Linked DNA regions of Homo sapiens: region 1 is linked to region 2. Evidence: promoter capture Hi-C in 16 types of primary human blood cells and fetal thymus (Javierre and others, 2016). All regions are on one chromosome and are shown on one strand. The core of a region is centred on a gene start or on the middle of the fragment in contact, and the rest is flanking DNA. Distances in the headings are between cores, read along the strand shown.

What was found. Contacts are between HindIII fragments. The CHiCAGO score rates a contact against its expected background, and 5 or more counts as called.
Region 1: a fragment that was not itself captured here is called in contact with the fragment with the promoter of ANKRD31 in region 2 in 1 of 17 cell types (neutrophils); the score reaches 5.5 in neutrophils.

The regions. Positions count from the first base shown.
Region 1 is chr5:75,502,518-75,509,496 of GRCh38, reverse strand. It overlaps CERT1 (ceramide transporter 1), which reads left to right. Exons shown (of 17, transcript NM_001379029.1): 2 at 3,381-3,515. Among named protein-coding and RNA genes, the nearest start is that of CERT1, 5.6 kb to the left of the region's middle. The HindIII fragment of the contact is 333 bases long and covers 1,136-1,468 here.
Region 2 is chr5:75,234,372-75,241,907 of GRCh38, reverse strand. It overlaps ANKRD31 (ankyrin repeat domain 31), which reads left to right and starts at 5,030. Exons shown (of 26, transcript NM_001372053.1): 1 at 5,030-5,325. The coding sequence starts at 5,222. It overlaps LOC124901006 (a long non-coding RNA gene), which reads right to left and starts at 4,870. Exons shown (of 2, transcript XR_007058823.1): 1 at 4,542-4,870; 2 at 1,020-1,171. RefSeq lists a silencer at 4,790-5,089 and an enhancer at 5,140-5,309. The HindIII fragment of the contact is 5,895 bases long and covers 1,428-7,322 here.

The DNA.
Region 1 (6,979 bases), core at 53-2,552, 270 kb before region 2:
AGCTTAAATTTTGACTGTTGCTGCATATGTAGAATGAATAGGAATAAAGCTTTTGGTATTCTTGCTCAAAGCTATGAAGGAAATTTTCCTGAGATTTACCAATTTATGGTTATATACAGTTTTCTGGAAGCTTTTTAATCAAGGGTATTCTAAATTGAGTATATATACTCATACTGAGTATGGTAGATGTTTTTAAATGTAAATTATATAGTTTGAATTCTTTGTATTCACCTGGTAATTTAAACAAAGGTCAGAACTCGGATTTTGTTCTTTTCCTTCCATTGAGTAATGTAAATAAGTCCCGGTACAATTCATTTTGTTTCTCCCCCAAAATGGGGTGGATTTGGAATGGGCTTGGGTAAATTTATATTAGAAATATACCAGTTCAAAGGGTATTTTCCATATGGTAATCTGAAATACATGGAAATACCTATGAAGCATATTTCTTATAAATCACTTAAGTGTATAGATTCCAAAAATACTAGATAGACAATAATTCTATCTAGTTATAGCAAGTATCGTGATGGATCATGGTGGGGAAAAGATGCATGCCTTAGTAGGACTTGAGAGCACCTAAGCCTGGATAAAATAATCTCATTCAATTTCTGAATTTCCTCCATCCTTCATGGTTTACCTTCTGTTTTTCCACACACCAAACTGTTTGAAATTCTGTCCATCCTTAAGAGTCCAAGCCAAATACTGTCCTTTCCATAAAGCCTTTTCTTATTTTGCCATCATTCAAGACCTCCTTCACTTGAATTCCCATAGCATTTTGTTTGTAGCTTGCTTCTGACTCTTATTCTAAATATATATTTTTTTCTCTTGAGTTTGTGTCTGCTGGCCTGTTGGCCACAGTAATATTTGATTCCCCTGCAGTGTCTAGCATATTGCCTTATCTGTATTTGTTAAATGGGGAAGAGTGAGGGAACATTATGAGAGCAGAGAAAAGACAAAAAACTTGTCTTCCAGGTGTCATGATACAGCTAATACTTACTGAGTAAAGGGTCCTGAAGCTGATACAGTTTGTTCAGTCTCTTATAAGAACTAATATTAAGTTATGGATACATAATTGCTGGGGCTTCTCCTCTAACATTGAAAGAGTTCTATTCTAGTGAGAAATGCTGAAGGTTAAGCTTCATTAGCTATGTATAACTCTTCCTCAGATTCAGAAAATACTATGTCCAGGCACTGTTCTAAGTCTATTCTTGTTTAAACTTAACTCTAAGAGAATTTGACAAAGAAAAAAAGAACACAAAGAGAATAAGTAACTTGACCACTGTCACAAAGTTTAGCCTTATGAAGTGTGGTAATTGTAAATGAGGTAGGATTAATCCATGAAGGGTCTTGAATGCCCTAAACAATTTGTATGACAGTCAGTGGGAAGTTGTCCATGTAAGTTTTGGAGCTAGAGACTCAATACGATCAATGTAAGAAAAGTAGGCAAATATGCTTAGTAAGTAAATAAGCTTGTGTAAATTATGAAAAAAACAGAAGATACTAGAGAAAAAATTATTAAGTCTCCTAAGGAATACAGGAACTGGATAATTTGATTGGAATAGTTGAAAATGAGAAGAGGAGGCAAATTTAAGGGTTTACTATGAAGGAAAGATGAGCAGCTTTTGGTAATGGGCTATAAATATTGAGAAGGAACACTTAGGTATTGAGTATCTTCTGTGACTATGCTAGGCATTTTCATTATTTTATTCGGCCGTCAGTCAACAGGCAAAGAAACTGAAGTTTACAAAAGTAACTTGTCAAAACTCTCTTCACATGAGTTATAAAATAGTTGAGCCTATTTTATCCTATATCCACTAATCTGTTTGTATATCTAATACACTAACTCTGAGCAGAAGTAGCAGTCTCCCCAAGGAAGTAGGAAAATAGGAAGGAAGTATACTTTATAGGAAGGTGAATTCAGTTTTATTGGTAACTATCATTTATTTCAAGCCCGTGTCTAAGTGGTGGTACATCTCAAGCAGTTAGAAATAAGGAAATGGTGATTGGGAGCCACTAGAATGAGTTAAATGTTGGCTTGGGTGAGTTCTCAGAGAGTGGTTGTAATGATGGGGCTTAGAAAAATTAAGAACTGGCTAGGGATGGTGGCTCACCTGTAGTCCCAGCACTTTGGGAGACCAAGGAAGACAGATCGCTTGAGCCCAGGAGTTTGAGACGAGCCTTGGCACCATAGCGAAACCTCATTTCTACAAAAAATTAGCCAGATGTGGGGGTGCACACCTGTAGTCTCAATCACTTGGGAGGCTGAGGTGGGAGGATTGAGCCCAGGAGATTGCGGTAAACTGAGATGGTGCCACTGCACTCCATCCTGGGTGACAGAGCGAGACCCTGTCTCAAGAAAATACTAAATAAAAGAAAATTTAAGAAGTGAATCAATCTCAAAAATGCTTAATTAGAGAACAGAAAAATAAAAGATTTCTCAGTGGATATAGAGCCTGAGCCAATGCAGTATATTTTGGCAATCCATTTTTAATTAGTTTTTGGAATTGGCAGATAGTTTTTGAGATTTTTCTATACTTAACACCCCAGAGCATAGATAAAAACATGCAAAAATAAGTATTCCTGTAAAGGTTACATTTCTGCCTTTTCCAGTTTATTGTGATCTTCACTTTGCAGCAAGACTTTAGCAACACAGAAACTCTTAAGGTATTGAAGACAATCCAATATGTTTTTGAAAAGCAATTTTATTTTTGTTTTATTACTCTTGAGTTTGAAAAATGCATGTTCAGAGGAACTTGGAAAATGTATTGGCCATTTTTAATATTATTCAGTTCTGTAGAGGAAAAGTTAAAGTTGATGCCAGCTTACTAAAGATTATTATTTTTATTTTGATATAGTTACAGCTGTTATAAATTTTCATATAGGAATAACAACAAAAGTAGAGTTTAGCAATAATTGACTTTATACTTCCGTTGATTTAGAAGGCTTCATGCAGTCTTTGGTGTCAGAATGAGAGACTACATACATAACTGAACATACTTCTCTGTTGAATATGTTAATTATGACAAGGACCAAAACAAATATCATGAAGGTACTTAGGAGAGGATGAAAGCATACGAAGAATAAACAATAATTTTAACCAAAATCTGGCTTTCGTTTTATTCTTCAAATGTTAGAAGAAAATGTTATATTTTATTTCTTACAGATTTATTTATAATATTGTAAAAATTACTGAAAATCATTATGCAATCTAGAAAATCTCAACTTTTCACTTTTTGTAATCATTTTACTGTTTATGCTTAGAATTAAGTTGGACTTTTCACGTTTTGGTTTTAAAATTAGATTGCTGTTTCACAAAGTTTGGATTTCTAAAATACTTCTATTTTTTGTTTTCTTCTCTCTTCCCTTCCCCTTCCCACTCCCAGTGGACAAACTACATTCATGGGTGGCAGGATCGTTGGGTAGTTTTGAAAAATAATGCTCTGAGTTACTACAAATCTGAAGATGAAACAGAGTATGGCTGCAGAGGATCCATCTGTCTTAGCAAGGCTGTCATCACAGTAAGTTCCTTTTCTTCTTCATTCAACAAATATTTATTGAGTGTCAGCTACATACCAGGAACTGTTCTACGTGTTCAGGATACATCCGTGGATAAGATAAAGATCCTTGTCCTTGTAGAATATACATTCTAATACTTTTTTCCATAAAGTGATTTTACTGTGGTTTTTACTACATATTGTTATTTTGCATAGACATGTAGTTTTTATCTGGTGGGTATATCAAACCAGTTTAAGGGCTTCAGGAAAAAAAAATGTTTGAAGCCTTTTTATTTGTTGAGGCTGGGACAGTTACTTTGTAGGTTACTGAATATTTAAAAATAATACATCTTGTAAGTAACATTCTAAAATTTTAACTTAAAAATATAAATGTAAATTCATTTTTAAACTTTTTAACATTGAGCTAATGCCATCTCTTTGTGGAGTTGGGAGAAGCTGTTCTCATGTTCCTCACACATGATTTGCTATTTACAGTTTTGATTTCTCTAATGTGGAATAAAAGCCTGAAGATAACTTTTGAAAAACTCTAAGTATAGGCTCCTTCTAACTTTTTATGATTTCCCCTTATATTTTGCAGTTACATCACTTTTCTCCAATTCAACACCCTTTAAAAGAATAACTCACCTTCGTTGAGTCATTCTACTTAGTTTACATTTTGTTGTTCTTTTTTTGTTTTTTTGTTTTGTTTTGTTTTGTTTTTGAGACAGTCTTGCTCTGTCACCCAGGCTGGAGTGCAGTTCTGTGGTCTCAGCTCACTGCAACCTCGACCTCCCAGGTTCAAGCAATTCTTCTGCTTCAGCCTCCCAAGTAGCTGGGACTATAGCCACGTGCCATCACGCCCGGCTAATTTTTGTATTTTTAGTAGAAATGGGGTTTCACTGTGTTGGCCAGGCTGGTCTCAAACTCCTGACCTCAAGTGATCCACCCACCTCAGCCTCCCAAAGTGCTGGGATTACAGGCATGAGCCACCGCGCCTGGCCTACTTAGTTTACATTTAACTTAGTATATAGAAACAACTGTTCCTTTTTGCACTCGTAGTCATTAGACATGAATAATGTTTAAGATATGTAAGAACTATAACAAGTAAACTGGCATAAACAGGTTTGGGAACAACCAACTGACTTGTTAAGCATGTAACCCAACTAGTGAGAACAGAAGTACCTGATAATACAAAAAATAGCATACTGGTTAAGAATGGTCAGCATGCCATGGGCCAAAAAAAAAAAAAAAAAAGTGTTGGCTAAGGCCAGACAGTTAAATAGAGGTCAGTTAAGGGAGCTGTTGTAGTTAAAATCTGAAAATGGGTACGTTAAAACAAAAATACAGAGTTTACTAACTCACTCAAAGAGAAGTCACATTTTGTGATAGAATTTATTTGGCTTATAAAAGTGAAAGATATATATATAATACTTCAGATTTCCGTTAATATCTAATCCTTACTTAGCGTATGTTTGTTATGCATTTAGGGAAAATCTTACAGTATTTTTACATTATTTTTTATACATTATTTCCCCCCTTGTATATTCAAAGTTTGAAAACAAAAGTTTAGAATTGAATATCAAGTTAGAGAAACACAGAAGAAATATTTGGAAGTGTTGATAATGAAACTACGCTCTCTATTCTTAGAGACAATTTTTAGGAAATAGCTTTAACATAAAGGCTCAGTATTTATTTTGACTGGTATGTGGTACATTGTAATGTGTTTAGAAATTGTATCTAGTTTAATATTTTGGGTGTTTTTCTTCCGAGATAGATCATTATTCATATCAATGGACAGAATAGTGGATTGAAATGTACCTTGCGATCTTGAAGTGTTTTTCCTTGATCCTCCACTCCCCTTCTTTTGCGTATTATTATTGGATGTTTATTAGTTGCAATGCTTAACTCTTTGAAAATAGTATAATGATTGATGTAAAAATGGGGAGGAATTAAATTTTATCTTTATTATTCTCTAAGTAGTAGTATTCCTAGAGTACCATGCTAGTTTCTGTGGATTTAAATATAGTTATTCTGTCTTGAATTATGGACTATAATAATGTTGCCTGGCTTATTTGGAGAAAAGAAAATTTTAAATTAAACATTTAATTTAAATGTTTAATTTAAATTAAACAAAAAATTTAAATGTTTAATTTAAATTAAACAAAAAATTTAAATTTTAACATTTATATCCATCTTCTCAGGAAGAAAACAGTGTTACTTTATTGTAATTGATTTTTGTTATAGCTATATGTACATGCATAACTTTCATTGTGGTACATAGTAAAAGACATGCGTAGGAACAAGAAACAATTTGAATTCTTTGAAGGAGAGATAAAAGTAGAAGTAAAAAGATGAATTAGGCAACAAAATCTGTGTGGTAGTCTTAGATACAATGAAATGGATGATAGGAAAAAACACAAGCATTTATATTATTGAACTTGAACTTTCCTTGCCCTTTGGGTTCACAGACTCCATGTTACATATTTAAAGGAAATTAAAAATATAACTGAATTCAGTGAACTCAGGATGAGTTTACAAATTAGAGTATGTACTTTAGTTAAATAAATAAATGTAATAGTAATATTCCTCATTAAATTTTAATAGGCATCTCTTGGTATTTTTTTTCCTTAAATATGGGCTATGCCTATTGTCACTTCATGTCAGAATACAAAGAATGTAAATGTTTAATTTCTTTATATGGCACTCTTATGAAATTGATAATATTCACGTACAAAGAAATCTGGGCTTGAAGAGTTGATGTGACTTTACTGTAACCATTCATTACTATATTATTTGTTGGTGGACCTAGCATCTGAACCCACATTTCTTGATAGAGCCTAATCCATTTTAAGTTCATTCTTAGTTTAATGATTAAATCACTCTTAATTTATAAAAACAATATTCTTTATCTGTGTGATAATAAAGTGGGTGAAATAATTTCAAGGAAGAAAGTATGTCTTGAGAGAATTTATTCCTTAATGTGAAAGGATTGACAGTAAGTAGGTGAGAGGAAAAATAGTATTCCCTTACTTTGTGTAAAAAGAGCTATTTGTATGTAGAATAAGTGTTTGTAGAAAGACAGTTGAATTCTTCAGTTATTATAGCTTGATACTTAGAAGACCCAGCCCCTGCTACAAAATTTGCCGCATAGTAGATATTCTGAATATGTTAGTTGTAATTGTTTCAATTAAAAGCAAATGTTTATGGAATATTTACACTGTTTACTTTTTATATTCTATTTTTAAAATAAAGTGCACATGATAAAAAATATAATTTGTGGCATTAAAAAGTTTAAGAAGTACATGCTGCTTTTTAGTCTTGCACTTGAGGGACAACCAAACTTAAATTTCTGGTCATCCTTTCAGAAAATATGTAGGACTATACAAGGATTTGTTTATATCTTTCATAAATATTTACACAAATGGTATCATATTAAGCCTATTGTTCTGCACCTTGTTTTAATACAACTTACACATTAACTGTTATAT
Region 2 (7,536 bases), core at 3,781-6,280:
AAAGTGAAATTGAACTTATTAAATTCTGCACTAAGAAGGGACAGCCTATAGGAGTTGTGGGTGGCATATCCCCACACATATGAATCAGCTATAATGATCGCTAAAAAACAAATTTAGGGCTGGGTGTGGTAGCTTACCCCTGTAGTCCCAGCACTTTGGGAGGCTGAGACGGGCAGATCACCTGAGGTCAGGAGTTCGAGATCAGCCTGGCCAACATGGCGAAGCCCCGTCTCTACTAAAAAAATACAAAAATTAGCCAGGTGTGGTGGCACATGCCTGTAATCCCAGCTATGAAGGAGGCTGATGCAGAAGAATTACTTCAACCCGGGAGGCGGAGGTTGCAGTGAGCCGAAATCGCATCACTGTGCTCCAGCCTTGGCAACAAAAGTGGAACTCCGTCTCATAAATAAATAAATAAATAAATAAATAAACAAACAAATTTAGGTACTAAACCAACACTTAATCATGTGCAAACTTGCCTTTGTGTGCTCCATTATTTTGCAGTTTTTGAGAAAAGATTTCACATATCCTGATTTTTCAGTTACATACTTATTCCCATCCATTAAAAAAGTTTACATGACAGCTTTAATTTGTGCCAAACATGTGAATTGCTTGGGTTAATGGATTAGTAACTTATTTTTGTTTAAAAAAAAGTCTAAGTCTTTGAGAAAATGATTCTTTTGGAAAGTGTATTTTTTTTTTTTTTTTTTTTTTTTGACACAGGATCTCACTTTGTCACCCAGGCTGGAGTGCAGTGGTGCAATCATAGCTCACTGCAACTCCTGAGCTCAAGGGATCCTCCTGCTTCAACCTCCCGAGTACCTGGGTCAAATGTGCGCCACCACTTCTGGCTAATTTATTTTTATTTTTGTAGAGATGGGGGTCTCTCTATGTTGCCCAGGCTCCTCGGCTCAAGTGATCCTCCCATCTCTGCCTCCCGAAGTGCTGGGATTACAAACATGAACCATTGTGCCCTGTCGGGAAAGTGTATTTTAAAATACTTATCATGGAATACTTGGTGAAATACTTCATATAGTTTTATTTTGGGGAGAAATATTACTAAGGTGAAAGTGGCTGCTGGATTTAGTCTCTTAGAGATTCATATTGTGTTATGATAAATCAAATCTTCCATGAAAGTCTCATCTCTTACAGTTCTAGGATCCAAAGTAACCTGGATAGGAAATAAATAATATGAAGCTATAGGCAGCGAAGAATCTTAATTATAAAAGCAAAATATATTGTGTAATCACAAAATAATGAGCCTTCTTTTTCTTTTTAAACATCAAAAAAAAATTTTAAATTCACCTTTACAACAATAATTCCCCAAGAGGACATTTTTCTTGTAAGATTATAGCCCAAATGGAGTAGACCAAGTAAAATTTAATTACATTTCTTAAAAATTATGGCCAGGCGTGGTGGCTGAAGCTTGTAATCCCAGCACTATGGGAGGCCGAGGTGGGTGAATCACCTGAGGTCAGGAGTTCGAGGCCAGCCTGACCAACATGGAGAAACCCCGTCTCTACTAAAAATACAAAATTAGCCGGGTGAGGTGGCACATATCTGTAATCCCAGCTCCTTGGGAGGCTGAGGCAGGAGAATCACTTGAACCCGGGAGGTGGGAGGTTGCAGCGAGCCAAGATCGCGCCATAGCACTCCAGCCTGGACGACAAGAGCGAAACTCCGTCTCAAAAAAAAATTTTTTTTCCCCCTCATTAACTATGGTTATTCTGAATATAAAGTGTATAGGAGAGGCAGGATAAAGTCTTTTTATCGTTATTAATTTTAGAATAATAAATGGTGTCTAGCAACCTCCAAAAGTAGCCAATTATTATTTTTTAATAATAATGTTTACAGATTTTTACATACTCGGCGATGTTTTAATCTATTTGAAAATTCAAACTAATTCAAAAGAAAGCTGAGCTCTATTTCCTTTGAAACACAGTTGCAGTACCTGATTCCTGCCATTCCTGAAATACCTGGGAAACCTCTCCTTGGTTCAATTACATGACTCAACTCACCCTGCTTAAACCAGTATGAATTGTACTGCAGCCTAGATTTCCTAAAACAGATCTTCTGTTCATTTTTCCACCTCTGTCCTGCACTGAAACTTTGGATTTCATAAAAACAAACAAAAAAAGGTTTATTTAAAATCACACTGGCATTTATGAGGCTCATCTCTGCCATTTCTTTTTCATTCTTTGAATCTTAGCAACTCTCTTAAATAAAAGGAGAACAGATGATGCAAAAATAACTGACTTTTTCCCGCCAAAAGAGAAAGCATTTTTAAAAAGAATGTGAATTTCAGGCCCAGAAGAATGTGAATTTATCTATAGCAGATCCTCGAATAACATTTATTTCAATGGTGTTTCAACACTGATGAGGGAAGAAAATTATTATACTTCCCAGCCAGGGCCACTGTGTATGTGGAGTTTGCATGTTCTCCCTATGTCAGCATGTTTCCTCCAGGTATTCTGGTTTCCTCTCACATCCCAAAGATGTGTATGTTAGGCTCATTGACTTATCTAACTGGTCTCAGAATGAGTGTGTGTGTGTGAGTGAGCACGCTCTTCAATGAAATGGCCTCCTGTGCTGGGTTGGCTCCTGCCTTGAGCCCTGAGCTGCCAGGATAGGCTCCAGCCACTCTCAACCCTGAACTGGAATGACTAGGTAAATAATTATCTTATTTGTTTTTATTAGTCTTTCTTAAATATATATATTTTTATTAATCTTTCTTAAATATATATGACATTTCTTATATATATTTATTAAATATATATTAAATATATTAAGAAATATCTTAAATATATATCTTAGATATTTATTATATATATTAAATATATTAAGAAATATCTTAAATATATATCTTAGATATTTATTAAATATATTAAATATTTATTATTAAATATATATTTAATAAATATCTGATATATATTTAAGATATTTCTTAAATATATATATTTAATAAATATATATATAGCTCACGTTTATTTCAATGTTTAATAGTAAAGGTGTTTTGGTGTTTATTTACAAGTTTGGTAATGTTTTTGTGACCAGAAATATGTTGTAAGAACTTAACTCTCATATATATCAATTAGACAATGGTAAAATTGGTTTCCTTGTAAGTCATTTTGTTTTAGGTTGCAGTTTCCAAGACCCTACCGACAGACATTAAGTGAGGACTTATTGCACTTAGCTTGTTACCAGCTGTTTGGAGCAAGTACTGTTACTAGTGGAGTCATCTTTCCCTCTGGGGCAAATGGAGCCACTCACCACCATTTACTGGGTATGCATCCCCCAATTCCTGTGAAAGCAGAGTTGGATAATTAAAAGAATGGGTGAAGTGGGCATAGTGGCATGAGATTGTAGTTCCGGCTATTTGGGAGGGTGAGGTGGGAGGACAGCTTGAGCCCAGGAGTTGGAGATTAGCTTGGGCAACACAGAAGAATGCGCTAATGAATTAATTAAACAGTGGGTGAGCAGGAAAGGTGATAGGAATTTAGGTCTGATTTAGACACGGAGGGTATAAATGGACTACTGTTAAAAAAAATAAAAAAGAGGTCTAGTTCTTTGCATATTTATTATTGCTCTGCCTAATTTACAGAGTTGAGGCGAGGAATTTTATTTAAGTAAGTTACTTATTCAAGTAAGTTTATTTTTTTATTTTTTGAGACATGGTATGACTCTGTTGCTCAGGCTGGAGTGCGTTTGCTCAATCATAGCTCATTATAACCTCAAACTCCTGGGCTCAAGCGATCCTCCCGCCTCAACCTGAGTAGCTGGGACTACAGGCCCATGCTACCATGCCCTGCTAATTAAAAACAAATTTTTTGCAGAGATAGGGGTCTCACCATGTTGCCCAGGCTGGTCTTGAACTTCTGGTCTCAAGCAATCCTCCTGCCTCGGCCTCCAATGCATTGAGGTTACAGGTAGAGCCACCACCCCCAGCCTCAAGTTAAGTTTAGAAGATAATCACCAATCAAGCATTTTAAATAGCAGTGGCTTGAATATACATAGTAAAAACACAAAATAATAATAATGATAATAATGGCAAAGCTACTCCATATAGTGAAAAGGGCAATGAATTGGGAAGTCAGAAATCTCTAGCTCCATCCATTTATGACAAAACTTAGACTTTATATGTGCTAGATGCTGGAGACTCCAAGGTGAATACTAAACACTTGCTATGGGAAAACAACTTGGTCTTTTCTTGAATCTTCTTCTCACTTGGCAAGTGGAAGCTCACTTGGCTTTGTTTTGAATTAGTTTGAATTAAAAATGTTCAACTAGACTGAAACACATCAAATATATAAAATTCTAGTACTTCATTAAAACGCAATTGACTACTTTTGGAGGTTGCTAGGCATTACTATTATTATAAAAATTGATAAAAGAGGAAAAAATAAAGCATTTATCCTGCCTTTCCTGCATAATCTGTATTTCAGGTAACCAAAGCGTTGTTGAGAGAAAAAAAAAATGCAAAATACATCACTGAGATTAGTTGATGAGCTAAAACTTCTGATAAACGTATCTGTTTTGTCTACCTCAGAGGACACTTGAGGAGAGGCTGTCAAGGGATTAAAGGGAAAGGAAGCACTTGGTGGGCTGCAAAAACTCTCTTTAGGTCTAAGGTCGCATTCTGGCTCCAGAATGCCAGGGCTGCTGGGGCGGGCAGGAGCTGACAGCTCTTCCCGTATCTGGGGCTCACAAGCATCAGGTGCATGGCAGGTCACCCTCCCGGCCAAGGGTGTTAAGCAGGCTCGGTCTGAGTTCTGGGTGCGCCACGCCTGCCTTTCTGGTCTCTGCAGCAGCAACCCCAGCACCCTCAAAGCCTAGCGACCGAGAATGAGAAACCGTGAAAAAAACACGCAGCGGCAGGCCACGCCCAGAGTAGGCCTGCGCGCGCGCGCGCGGCCTCCCACTTCCGGCCACGGGAGCTGGGGGCGGGGCCGAGCGCTGCGCAGGGCTCCGTCGTGTGGCGAGCGGCTGCCCCCTGTCTGCGACGAGCGGCGGGACCCGCGGGCCGCCTCGCAGACTGCTACCCCGCCGCGCTCGCGGCCGCCTGCGTCCTCCTCAGCAGCCCTGCGACAAGTCCCGGCTCCTGCTGCGATTATATTATTTTTATTTTTAATTCACAATTTCCCCTGGCCCTCAAAGCGTTTTTTTGTTTGCGGGCAAGAGGGAGTTAGAGGAGGGTAAAAAAGACTTTGAATGTGAGGCAAAGATGGAGGAAGGCGTCCAGGCCCCAGACTGGGACAGTGATGAAACTGTGATAGAGGGTTCAGTGACGGAGAGCGACCTGGAAGAAAAGGAGCTGCCCTGGAGAAGGTGACCATCATTAGGGCCACAGTGCCTGAACCCTCGCGCCAGGGCGGCCCAGGTGCCCTCTGAGGGGGTCAGAGTTTTGAGTGGAGATCGTGACCAGAACATGTGCTTGTGGGCAGGATCAGAGCCTTGTGGGGCAGCCGTGCCTGAGCTGAGAGCTTGTAAATAAGCAAACACAGTCTGTTCCCACCTACCCCCAACCAGCTAGGGATAAAATGAGGTTTGTACTAGGTGGCTTTATAGCATTTTTCAAAAGGCTTTCCTTTTGGGGGCTTTAAGTCTTTTTGCACAAGCAAAAAAGATCTTGGGTCTGAACTTAACTGCATTTTGTTTCAGGAGACTTCATTTTGCTTCAAGAGACTCGTAGCTCAGTTCTAGGAAAATGGGTAACAGTTTCTCTCAAGAAAAGAATGTGTGATGGGGAAACTGGTCCCTGCCAAACTGGAAACGAATAGTTTTATACGAATCCAAAAAAGTCGGTATTTCAGGTTATCGAAACCTTTCTCTAACATATTCTCTGTGCTAGACACAGGGAAAAGAGGGCAGGGATGAGGCCACTAGGTCTGCTTCATATGTGCTCAGGGCTGTGTCTGGGACTTAAGTTGGATCGTACACAGAATTAGGTCATTCTCCTTTCCCTCTCTCTCTTCTCCAGGATTCTCCTGCCCCCTTTCCTCATCATACCCACTTGCCAGTTCATATGATCAGAAAGACAGGTTTCTTTGAGTGTTAGCCTTTTCACTATACAGCAGTTCCTTACAAGGGGGACAGCCTTTAGCACAGAGTTAAGAAAAGAGAGAAAAAAGGGGGATTCTGTCCACACTTTTCAGGCAATACCGATCCCTTTTCCCAGTTCCTCTGGTAGACACTTTCTCTTGAGTTTTATGTTCCCCAGTTGCCATGGTTGGTGTCTGCTCTGAGGCTAGGGCCAGCCTTGGGGCAGGGCTGGGAGGTGAGAGAGAAAGCAACATAAAGCCCTGGGCTTTGTCCTATACCTTCTGGCATGCAGGGGTCATTTTCCTTGGTCTTCTGGATAAAAATAGGTTTACTGTCTGTGCCCACTGGATGGTTCAAAGCTGAAAGACAAAAAAGAACCAAAAAACCGAAAACAAACTGAAACTCGTCAATAAATGGGTTGTTATTAAGATTTCAACTTCAGTCCCCAATCTACCTGCTATTGTTTACTTTTCAAGGTTCTCGAGTAGTTTTTAAAAAATATTCATTCGGAGTTTTTGGTTGTAATGAGAAACAGGCAGAGGTTGCTATGAGCCAAAATGACTCCACTGCACTCCAGCCTGGGCGACAGAGTGAGACTCTATCTCAAAAAAAAAAAAAAAAAAAAAAGTACCAGCAAGACTTTCTGTTGAACTAGACAACTGATTCCAAAGTTTATATCGTAAAATAAATAAGAGCAATTAGGAAAAGTCTGAAAAATAAGAACAATAAGGAGGTAATGACCTATAGGATATTAAAATATTTTCTGATATAAAATATTTTAAATATGATACTGGCACATAAAGTGACAGATCAATAAACAGCATAAAAACCCCCAAAATAGAATCACATACATATGGGAATTTAGTGTATTACAGAGGTGGCATCTCAAACCAGCGAGGAAATGATGGGATTTTTCAAAAAATGATATTGGGATGATGAAGGATGTATGTAGAAAATAGTTTAGTTGAATCCATATTTCACACTGTACTCCAAAAAAATTCCATATGAATCAAAGATGTAAATGTTAAAAAAAAACCAAAAAGTATTACAAGAAGCCAAAAAGGGATTCTTTTATAACTGTAGAGGAAGAAAGATATAATTATAATACAAAACTCAAAAAATTTCAATTATCAAGATTACAAACACATATACTCTTTGACACAGTGCTTCTGTTTTTAGAAAATAGTGTTACCTCTGTCTTCCAACATATATACACTTAGAAAATATCTCTGAAAGAATTACAAAACAATCAAACACCTTGGTTGCCTGTGGGAAAGAAAGCTTATATTTGAGGGGACAGAGAGATATTTTACTACATACCCTATTATATTGTTTGTTTTGGAGACTGGATCTTACACTATTGTCCAGTCTGGAATGCAATAGTGCAGTCATAGCTCACTGAAGCCTCTAACTCCTAGGCTGAAGTGATCTTCCTGCCTCAGCTCCCTGAGTAGTGAGGACTATGAGCATGAGTAATCAGGGCTAGTCTATACTGGT